2 separate regions of the Homo sapiens genome follow, and region 2 is linked to region 1. Evidence: promoter capture Hi-C in 16 types of primary human blood cells and fetal thymus (Javierre and others, 2016). All regions are on one chromosome and are shown on one strand. The core of a region is centred on a gene start or on the middle of the fragment in contact, and the rest is flanking DNA. Distances in the headings are between cores, read along the strand shown. Region 1 holds the start of NCKAP1L (NCK associated protein 1 like). Region 2 overlaps GPR84-AS1 (GPR84, ZNF385A, ITGA5 and GTSF1 antisense RNA 1).

Region 1 (5,717 bases), core at 820-3,319:
AAGACAAACAGCAAGGAAACAGTGAGTGGGAAACAGAAACAATAAAATACATGTACCCTGCTGGGTTGATAGAGCTGTCTTGTACAAAAACAATGTTTTCCCATGAATCTTGCAATGGAAAAGGGGTGATGATTCGCTCCAGCTTATGCTGGAAGAATCCCATCTTATCTCAAAATGCTCAAGACTTAAAGCTCTACAACAACCTGAAGCCCTGTGGTTGAGCCTTGGAAAACTATTAATAAAAAAAGACTACTCCATCCCCTGCCAAGTTTGAAGAGAGGCATCAAAAGAGGAGAATTTCAGCCATTCAAGCAGAGAATTATTCAGAGAAAGGAGAGAAGGACCAAGTTCTCACCGTGCTGTTTCGGACATCTATGTTGGGAAATTTCTTGTTGATATACTTGAGAGATGGTTCCATGGACTTTTCCAGTAAGAAAGGTGGCTTAGATTTGGGGTCTGAACAAGTCTGCAGAGAGAAACCATATATATTTCAACCCTTTCTCCTCCTCCTCAGAAACATACCTCTTCTTGCAACATTCATTCTCATAATCTGTCTTAGGAAAAGGCAACCTGGGAACTAATTTAAAAAGCATGAGAGGCTGGGCGCAGCGGCTCACACCTGTAATCCCAGCACTTCGGGAGGCCGAGGCAGGCAGATCACAAGGTCAGAAGTTCGAGACCAGCCTGGCCAACATGGTGAAACCCCGTCTCTACTAAAAATACAAAAATTAGCTGGGCATGGTGGTGCACAACTGTAGTCCCAGGTACTTGGGAGGCTGAGGCAGGAGAATCGCTTGAACCCGGGAGGCGGAGGTTGCAGTGAGCCAAGATCGTGCCACTGCACTCCAGCCTGGGCGACAGAGCGAGACTCCGAAAATAAATAAATAAATAAATAAATAAATAAATATAAAAATAAAAAGCATAAGAGTAGGTCAAGAAAAAATTCCAAGACATTAAGCCAAGTATCTAAGAGCGAAATAACAACCTAGGCATTTTGTCTTGATGGGTAGAGTTTAATGCCTGCTTGGCCCCAGCACAAAGAGGAAGCTGTTTCCCCGCCCCTCAACTGAAGCCGGAAGGAACAAGAAAAGCAGCTGCTCAGGAGTTAGACTTTGTACAAGATTCAGTGTCACAATTTTGTTCACTATGTAAGTATCTTATCCCAAAGGGCATTTACAGGATTCATGGTGACAGAGAAACCGTGTTCCTGGTGATTTGTTTTATTACAAAAAACACAAAAGCTCCCTCCCCCAAAGTCCCCTATTTTCTATGCCAGGAACTCCCCATAAACACCCCTGTCTTTATCTCTTTACTTCCTATGGTTTGCCCAGCCCCTAGCCCACCTCTTGTCACTAGCTTCTTTCAATTCCTCAGTTCCTATTCTAAACACACACACACACACACACACACACACACACACAACCACCACAGCATGAACTACCCCAGGAGCAGCTCAGAAGACACCTACCCTTTTTAATCTAAATACCTAATTATCTATTTTTTTTCCTTTTAGGGAAGCACTTCCACAGAAAAGTTTTTGCCAGAGACCCAGCTTCAGATCTCTTCAGAGTGTAGAGGATCAACAATAAATAATAAAACCCAGAAGGTTGGACCCCAGACCTTTATCCAAGTCACTTGGAATACCACTGTTGTTTCCCCATCCCCACCCTCACCCCCATCCCCAGAGGAAAGCAGATGCCATCGTTGGGGCAAGAATCATATCTAGAAAGGGGAAGCCTTGAAAAGAAGCCTCCACTTCTGCCTTCCTGAACTGGCTGGCCTGTATAATCTGAGTGATTATGTAGATTATAGTCAGTGGAAAAGCAGTGGAAAAAAAGGTGGGAGTCTAACTGCTGCACCTGCCGCCTCAGGGTTCCCTGCCCTATTATTGTTGGAATAATCAGTACTAGTCCCATTGTTCATGCTTACCTTCTTGATGTTATACATACGGATGAGAACCCCCTGACCGCGATCATTCAGGATAGTGAGCTTCTCTGCTAATTTATGCTGGTAAGCAGATGTCAAAGACATGATGGCCACTGAGAGAGGAGCACCAGACAGCAATGTCTGATCTCCCCAAACACTTTCAGCTTAGATGGTGACACCCTCTGGCGGAGGGACCCAGCCTGGTTGGTGCACTGGTCTTCTGTTGCCTCTGCAATTGGCTCATGGGTGAAATCAGTCATTATGGCTCACAGGCCCTCAGAGCCTTCTTGTGCTTCCTCTTGCACACTCAGCAGGGGAGACTTCCTCTTTCTGGCTGTGCAGCACTTTTGGTAAGGCTATGAAGTGGGTGGAGCTGAGGAGAAGGACAGGCTTTCAAGGCTCTTCACAGACTGCACCAACCTTTTTGGTCTTATGCCCCCATAAGTGTCCTAGACAAAGCTGGGCGTGGTGGCTCACACCTGTAATCCCAGCACTTTGGGAGGAAAAGGTGGGAAGATCCATTGAGCTCAGGAGTTCCAGACCAGCCTGGGCAACATAGCAAGACCCCATCTCTATAAAAAATAAAAATTAAAAGCTGTAAGCTAGATAAACAAGTATCTACCACCCCACCCCTGTACACCTCTATATTTTCCTTCTTTTATATCCAAGAATGCCTATGAACCTTTGGCCTCATCATGTTTTAGTACCCAGATCAAATCCCATCTTCTCCTAAAGACCCCATCAATGTCAAATATTATATTGTATTATATTTTATATTGTCAAATACATATATTCCTTGTTATATGTTTATAGTGTACGTTGTATCTCCCCCAACTACAGCATAAGCTCCTTAATGACAGGAATTGTACCTAATACTTTTTTTTCTTTTTTTTTTTTTTTTTGAAACAGAGTTCCACTCTTGTTGCCCAGGCTGGAGTGCAATGGCATGATCTCTGCTCACTACAACCTCCACCTCCTGGGCTCAAGCAATTCTCCAGCCTCAGCCTCTGGAGTAGCTGTGGTTACAGGTGCCCACCACCACGCCTTGCTAATTTTTGTATTTTTAGTAGACATGGGGTTTCACCGTGTTGGCCAGGCTGCTCTCGAACTCCTGACCTCAGGTGATTTACCCGCCACAGCCTCCCAAAGTACTGGAATTACAGGCATGAGCCACCACACCCGGCCTCTAATACTTTTTTATATTTCTCACAATGCTCTACTACAGTGCATTGTACTTCTACAGTACATAATAATTCTCAAAGTAGTTCTCAAGAAGTACATAGTAATTCTCAAAATGTGATCCAGCAGCATCAGCATCACCTGGAAACTTGTTAGAGATGCAAATTCTTAGGACCCGCCCCAGACCACTGAATCCAAAATTCTGGGGTGGGTCCAGGCACTCTGTGTTTTAACAAACCCTCCAGGTGATTCCAATGCACACTCAAGTTTGAGAACCAGTGCTCTAGTACCATGGTATTTATGGATGCTTGAGAAACAGATCAATCCCTGTCCTCTGAGATTAGCATTGGTAGGTAGGCGAGTCTGTTGTGGGGCCTAGAAGTCTGTACTTATATAAGCACTGTTGTAGGAGGTTTTGGTACAAATATTCCATTCTGAAAAACACTGATCTAGAACAATACCTCTTGGACACAGTAGTCACTCAATAAATATGCTGGTTTATTTGTTGAATTATTAAGACTAAATTAGGAAATAGGCCCCATGAAGAAGAACCAAATTAATCAAGATTAAAAAGAGGAAATTAGTAATCACCCTTAAATCTTAGAGACTTGAATGAATTTTAGCATTAAAATATTCTTGCCATTCCAATGAGGCCTTAACTCCGTAACTCAAGAAAATTTTCAACTCTATTTCAACTTTCTTTCAAGACACAAAGCAAAAGGTCCTAGGAAAAATTATAAATCAAAAAGAGTTCTCTTCATTTCCACCACCTTGCCAATTCCTTTTCTCAGGTTTTTAATCATTCCCATTTTCCGTATCCAGAGTTCCCATTGTCCCAATAAATTCTAGGGAGTGGGAGAAGAGAGACAAGGCTGATCAGCATTATTACTTAAGAAGTTGGGGCCAGGTGAAGTGGCTCATGCTTATAATCCCAGCACTTTGGGAGGCAAAGGTAGAAGGATTGCTTGAAGCCAGGAGTTCAAGACCAGCCTAGGCAACATTGTGAGACCTTCCCCCACCCCTCTACAGATAAAATAAAATAAATTAGCCTGGTGTGGTGGTACATGGCTGTAGGCCCAGCTCCTCAGGAGGCTGAGGTGGGATGGTCGCTTGAGCCCAGGAGTTCAACACCGCACTCCAGCCTGGTCGATAGAGCAAGACTATGTCTCTAAATAAATAAATAAATAAATAAATAAATAAATAAAGGCAAGAAAGAAAAAAAAACTTGAGTACTGTGTTCACTATTTGGGCATGGGTGATGGGTTCATTAGAAGCCCAAATCTCAGCATCACACAATATACCCATGTAACAAACCTGCATGTGTATCCCCTGAATCTAAATGTTTTTTAATTTTAAAAAGAAACTTAACATCCATGCTCCAAAGAGAATGTATTTTTAAAAGAAGCAGCAAGATGGCAACACTTAACGCATGAAATTTCAAATATCTCTAAGGTAGAATTTGCATTTTAGGAATATAGAATCTGCCTTCCATTTTATTTACTAGACTGGGTCCCTAGAAAGCTATGGGCTCGAGGTAATGTGATATTGGTCATGAAGATTTGAATTACCTGCTGTTATCAAAGAAACCCAGGTTTTACTAAAGCAATTTGTAGGATTTCTACTGGTCTTTTACCTTTACCAAGGAGAATATGGAGCAGACAGTAAGAGGCCAACATCCAGGAAGCTTAGCAGCAGCATAGCACCGGTCTTCGTGGGGTTAGTGTAATTCTAGCGGCTCTTTCTTGCATTCCTTTTTTTTTTTTTTTTTTTTTTCCTGAGACAAGCTCTCGCTCTGTTGCCCAGGCTTGAGTGCAGTAGTGCTATCATGGCTCACTGCAACCTTGACCTCCCAGGCTCAAGAGATCCTCTCACTTCAGCCTCCTGAGTAGCTGGGACTTCAGGTGCAGGCCACCACGTCTGGCTAATTTTTGTATTTTTTGTGAGCCACCTCACTTGAATTTCTTGTCTTTATCCTGAAAGTGTGGTTGAAGACTCTGCATCCCAAGCTAATCTTGTTTCCTGCTCCTTAATGGATACTCCCCAACTTGGTGGGGACCATCTTCTCAGCCTGCTGTGAATGTGCTATGTTCATGTCTGCCTCTCTGACTTCACTTACGCATGCTTTCCTTCTTGCTTACCCAAATCCTAGTCAATCTTCAGGATCTAGCTCAATAGTCCCAAGTCTAGGTTTTGCCGAACTCCCACAACACTTGGTCTATACCACATACTTTACATCTAAATCAGGTTCTGTCCTTAACTGCCCATTTCATATAATACTGCCTAGCCAGCTGAACCAAAAGATTGTTGAAACCTGGAAACACTTATTCCCCTGTACTTGGTATATGCGAAAAGCCTACCTGCTGTTATCAGACAGAATTTGGCTCAAGTGTAGTTGAGTACAGTGGGCTGAGCCTTATGATTTAGTGACCGAGAGCCCAGGTTCTGGAACCAGATATCTTGAGTTCACATCCTATTTATCCTGTCTGTAAAATAAAGATGATATTGATAATACTTCCTATTTCACGGAGCTATTGTGCATATTTTAAAAGTTATAGCCTAGTTACTTACTCTGTACATGTAAAGCATTTGAAGTACTATAAGCACTCAAGCTT
Region 2 (5,717 bases), core at 1,275-3,774, 64 kb after region 1:
AATAGTACAGAGATATATGGAGCAGATGGTCTTTGGTAGAAAAGGCTTGCATCTCTGGGTCCATGGTGGCTGCTTAATGTGTCACCATGTCATAGCAAGCAGAAGGATGAAAGAGTGAGAGAGCAACTACTTTTCCTCTTTAAAGACATGACCCAGAAGTTACACACATTGCTTCACTCACATTCCATTGACCAGAACGTAGTTATGGGACCACCTGTAATTGCAAGACAGACTGGACAGTGTAGTATCTAGCTGGCAGCCATGCACCCTGCTAAGATTTAGTGTGTGGATAGCAGGGTAGCAGAGTCATATTATTAAAAGGAAGAAGAGACAGGATGATGAGAATGAGTGGTCTCTGCCACACTTATAAAATATAATTTGTGGGGACAGGTCAGGTGACAAAAGTTAACAAGTAATTGGACCACATCTCTGGATCCAATTCAATAATTAGATGCAAATTAAAAACATGATAGTAAGAAACGCTATCTTGCTAGAAGACTACGTTGTAAAAAACAATGTCACACAATTCAGAAATTAGTTTTGTAATGTTGCTGTGTTATGTTTACCATTGCTTTAAAAACAGGTTCAGTTTATTCAAATATTTGTTTAGCCAGGCAACGTACTTGGCAGTGGAAAAACAGAAGTAAACAAGATCCTTACCTCACAGAACTTAGTCTAAAAGGAGAGACAAACAGGAAAATACAATATAGTGGGGTAGATGCTGTGACTAGTGAAATCAGGAGTACTGGGTGGGGAATTAATGAATGCTTCTTGGAGGAATCAGTGTTTGTGCTGAGACTTGATCTATAAAATACATTCCATTCAATCCCAGCTACCCGGGAGGCTAAGGCACGAGAAACACTTGAAACCCAGGAGGCAGAGGTTGCAGTGAGCCAAGATCACGCCACTGCACTCCAGCCTGGGCGACAGAGTGAGACTCCATCTCAAAAAAACAAAACAAAAAACAACATTACAGAGAGCACATCAGAGTTTAAATAGATTTCAGATTTATCAACAGACAGAATGAGGCTTTAATATTTATAACCAAGTACTGTAACCATACATATAGTATATTAGTTTAATTATCCCAACAAATCTATGAGAAAGATATTACTGCCATTTTACAGGTGAAGATATTGAGACCCAAGGAGGTTAAGTAACTTGCCAAGGTTACATATCTGTTAAGTAAGGGAGGCAACTTTCAAACTCAAGTCTTTTCAGATGACTTCCCTGTATAAAATAAAAGCACATTAACAAAAAGCAAACATTATCATTAAAAATTCTGGCCAGGCGCAGTGGCTCACGCCTGTAATCCCAGCACTTTGCGAGGCTGAGCCAGGCAGATCACAAGGTCAGGAGTTCGAGACCAGCCTGACCAACATGGTGAAACCCCGTCTCTACTAAAAATACAAAAATTAGCTGGGGGTGGTGGCGCGTGCCTATAATCCCAGCTACTCAAGAGGCTGAGGCAGGAGAATCATTGAACCCAGGTGGCGGACATTGCAGTGAGCCAAGATCGTGTCATTGCACTCCAGCCTGGACAACAGAGCGAGACTCAGTCTAAAAAAAAAAAAAAAAAATTCTATGGAACATGCTTTCATAAAATATTTAGAGTTGCTTCTATCATAGGTGCATTCAAATGTATTCAATTTCTAAATTATACAAGGACTTTATTAATACACTGGATAATTAAGTGCTAGACCATGTACTCCAGACTATAAGCCTAGGACTTCAGAATAGTGGCACATTGCTGAGATTTAGAATGAGCTGGGGAAGTCCAGGCTCAGTGGCTCACACCTGTAATCCCAGCACTTTCGGCAGCCGAGGCAGGCAGATCACTTGAGGTCAGGAGTTCAAGACCAGCCTGGCCAACATGGTAAAACCCCGTCTCTACTAAAAATATAAAAATTAGCCAGGCATGGTGGTTGGCACCTGTAATCCCAGCTATTCAGGGGGCTGAGGCAAGAGATTCACTTTAACCTAGGAGGCAGAGGTTGCAGTGAGCCGAGATCACGCCACTGCACTCCAGCCTGGGTAACAGAGCAAGACTTCATCTCAAATAAATAAATAAATGAATAAATAAATATTTTAAAATAAAATAAAGAGGCCAGGCGCAGTAGCTCACACCTGTGATCCCAGTACTTTGGGAGGCCGAGGCAGGCGGATCATGAGGTCAGGAGATCGAGACCAGCCTGGCTAACACGGTGAAACCCCGTCTCTATTAAAAATACAAAAAAATTAGCCGGGCGTGGTGGTGGGCGCCTGTAATCCCAGCTACTCGGGAGGCTGAGGCAGGAGAATGGCGTGAACCCGGGAAGCGGAGCTTGCAGTGAGCCGAGATGGCGCCACTGCACTCGGGCCTGGGCAGCAGAGCGAGACTCTGTCTCAAAAAAAAAATGAATAAATAAAATAAAATAAAATAAAGAATGAGATGGGGAAGCTTATGCAGGGCTTGGATGGGCCTTGATGACCAGTACAGAGGACAGTGCATTCCAGACACTGGAATCACAGGAGCAAAGCTGAAGACAAAATGGGCACATTAGTGAGACAATACTGAGACACTGAGACCCAAATGACTAAAGCAGAAGGTGTATTAGAAAGAAGCTTTCTGGTTCTCCCAGGTACAGGAGAAGGGAGAGATTGGAGACCTCAGGGTCATTTTACCCCCATTTAAGTGGCCATGGTAGCTGTGACCTACCCCCACTTTTCTAGGAAAAAATATATTCCAGCATTCCCAAGATCTTCTATCTTCATTGTAATCATTTTGTCACCTTGAATATCAAAAGACATATTATTTTCCTAATGCTAGTCCGGGGCTGTACCAATTGACAGACACAATCTTTGCTTCATTCAAGTTTCCAGTCTAATAGGATACAAACAGACAATTCAGAGAACAAAATGGGGCAAACTTAGCCCAAAATAAGAGCATCATGATTCCCTTAAGATGTCAAAGTGCTTACAGCTGTACCATGTAGGAGGCCATAACAAATGCTACATTTAAGAGGACACTAGGCATGGGTGGGGTGGTCCCAGGCTTGATAAGGTTACTTAAGCCCCCAAATCCTTGTGGTCAACCCGAACAGTCACCTGGAAAAGGGCTGATGAACAGGATACCTTTCCTCCAAAGGAATCCTGCCTCTCCTATATGCCCCGAAATGAGCATTGAGTGGGAAGCTAACCAGAGGGAAAAATAGGAGCTGCTGTTAGGGTCAGACAGGATCCAGCAGCCTGCAGCCTGGACCCAAGCGTGCGGAAAAGGCCATTGTCTGAGTGGCTTTCTGGATTTCCTGCCCTCAAACACCTACCCCGCCCAACATGCACACTCAATCTCTTGCCTCCTGCTCTGCCATCACTGTGATTAGCAGGCACTGCCCACCAAGAGGACAACAGACCACTGAGGTTCTCCTAAAGTGAGAAGGGAAATCACCCAGACCCATCCCCAGTGGGGAAAGGCAAAAAGATGACACAGAACAGGGCTTTAAGATTACTAGAGAAAAGTGTTTCCAGATCTTAATGAAGATCCAGGATCCTCCTTATCTCTCAACCCGCACTCATTTCTCCTAGGTCTACTCATCCAGGAGACGTAGAGTTTTCTGGCACAAGTGAGCAACAGCTGGATGGGGGTGGGGGGTGTGTCTATGTAGGTGTCTGTGCCTCCAGGCACGTCCCAGTGGTTTTTATGTGTGGGAGAGGAGAATTCAGCAAACAGGGTGTGGTTGTGGGTGTGTCTCACGTGGGATGAGGTATCTACAGAGCAGTTCTGTTGAGATCCTTGGGCTCCCTGCTCTACCAGCCCTGGCATTGAGTCCATTTCATGACCCTGATGAGACCAGATTCCCAGCTGATGACGCCCATTCCCAATCACCAGCTTCCAGCTCTTTGGCCCCTCCCCCATCCACACGCTTACTCCTCTGGCAGGCTAGCTGGGCTTTTGGCTGGGAACTGAGCTCAAAGCGGAAACAGGCAGTTGGAAGGTGTGATTTATGTCTCTGACTTCACCCCAGGCTGGAGCCCAAACACTTGGACCCTCTCCGCAAGTACCCGTCTGGCAAATTATCTCCTCCCCCTCAAAATCTCAGGCTCTTCTAGCTGGTCAGAGGTCTTCCAGGCAAGCCCATCCTCACTACCATCCCCCCTCTCCACTAACACTACCACTCACACCTCTAACTCCTGCTGATTACAGTGATAGAAGAATTAACTTCACTATTACCCACAGGAGGCAGGATTCTCCTATCAGCCCCAAACAATAGATAAATCCCTCCATATATCTAATTTCCTTCTCTCCTGCTGCTGACCAGCAGTTGGTAGAAACAAAGGGGAGCTAACTCACTCAGAATTCTGCCTCTGGCCTGTCAAGGTCTCTTTGCAGATTTAAGGTAATCCTCAATCCTGTGATTGTTTCTATCTCTAGAGACTTCTTAGAAACATTCTCAAAGACACCAGAGTGCCATTTTCTTGCTCCTGATCAGTAACTTGATGCATATCTTTATCTGCCATTCATCAAGATCTGGAAAGCACACTCCACCCCCCACAATCTGGAAGCCTAGAGTCAGAAAAGATCTTGCTAGGAAGTGAGAATCCTCTAACTCCTTGCAGGGGCTCCCACCATTACCACTTAGAAAATTCTACTAGAAATCTAGTTTCATCTTTTCCCACTTTCAAAGATTCCTCATCAGTCAAATGCCCTTGTTAACTTTAGAGGGCAGTTGAGGAGGATTAAATGAAGAAATCAATTTGAAAGATATAAAATGCTGCTTCATAGTATTATTTTGAGGTTAAATGAGGTCGCATATGTAAAATGCTTAGATCTATACCTGGTACTTGATAACTATTAGCTGTTTTTTCCTGTAATACCTCAAAAATTGGGGAGGGACCTGGGAGTTTGCCCTTCCTAGACATCCAGAGCCCATGGGCTCATTATAACCTTGTTGAATGGGAAGCTCAGATTCCTAGGTTTTAGTTTCTTTTTTTTTCTTCTTCTTCTTTTTTTTTTTTGAGACGGAGTCTCGCTCTGTCACCCAGGCTGGAATGCAGTGGTGCAATCTCGGCTCACTGCAACCTGTGCCTCCTGGGTTCAAGTGATTCTCTGCCTCAGGCTCCCGAGTAGCTGGGATTACAGGCGCGCGCCACCACACCCAGCTGATTTTTGTATTTTTAGTAGAGACGGGGTTTCACCATGTTGGCCAGGCTGGTCTTGTACTCCTGACCTCGTGATCCACCCGCCTCAGCCTCCCAAAGTGCTGGGATTACAGGTGTGAACCACCGCGCCCGGCCCCTAGGTTTTAGTTTCTGAAGGTACATGGTTGCATGAATGAATGAGTCCATGCTCCATTCAGTTTTCTGGGGTCTGGTCTCTCCTTTCCTGGCTTCCTTCCCATCACCCCCTACAGAGCCTTTCCCCTAGATCACTGAGCTCATCCTGGTTACCAATTATTTGTTTATTCCTGGCCCCCACACAAGGACTCCAGCCGCAACCCTGGTTTTCCCCTGAGTTCCTGTATGAGAATCTGAATGTGTTGGGGTAAGATGGAACCTCAAGGATCACCTAGCCCAATTCCTTTGATTTAGGAAAGACAAAATTGGGAGCCAAAGAAGGGCAGACTTGCTCTAGTTGGAACTTCCAAGTCAAGTACCTGGATCCAGCCCAGGGAGTCCCTGTGTGCTTTCAAGGGTAAAAGAATTCTCATCCCCTTCTTCCTTTCTCTCTCTCAGTGAGT

Evidence for each region. Contacts are between HindIII fragments. The CHiCAGO score rates a contact against its expected background, and 5 or more counts as called.
Region 2: a fragment that was not itself captured here is called in contact with the fragment with the promoter of NCKAP1L in region 1 in 1 of 17 cell types (M2 macrophages); the score reaches 6.3 in M2 macrophages.

Annotation. Positions count from the first base shown.
Region 1 is chr12:54,494,104-54,499,820 of GRCh38, reverse strand. NCKAP1L (NCK associated protein 1 like) reads right to left here and starts at 2,069. Exons shown (of 31, transcript NM_005337.5): 1 at 1,930-2,069; 2 at 356-466. The coding sequence starts at 2,031. RefSeq lists enhancers at 1,878-1,937, 2,048-2,107. The HindIII fragment of the contact is 9,210 bases long and covers 1-4,791 here.
Region 2 is chr12:54,430,586-54,436,302 of GRCh38, reverse strand. All of the region lies in intron 3 of GPR84-AS1 (GPR84, ZNF385A, ITGA5 and GTSF1 antisense RNA 1), which reads right to left. Among named protein-coding and RNA genes, the nearest start is that of ITGA5, 14 kb to the right of the region's middle. The HindIII fragment of the contact is 164 bases long and covers 2,443-2,606 here.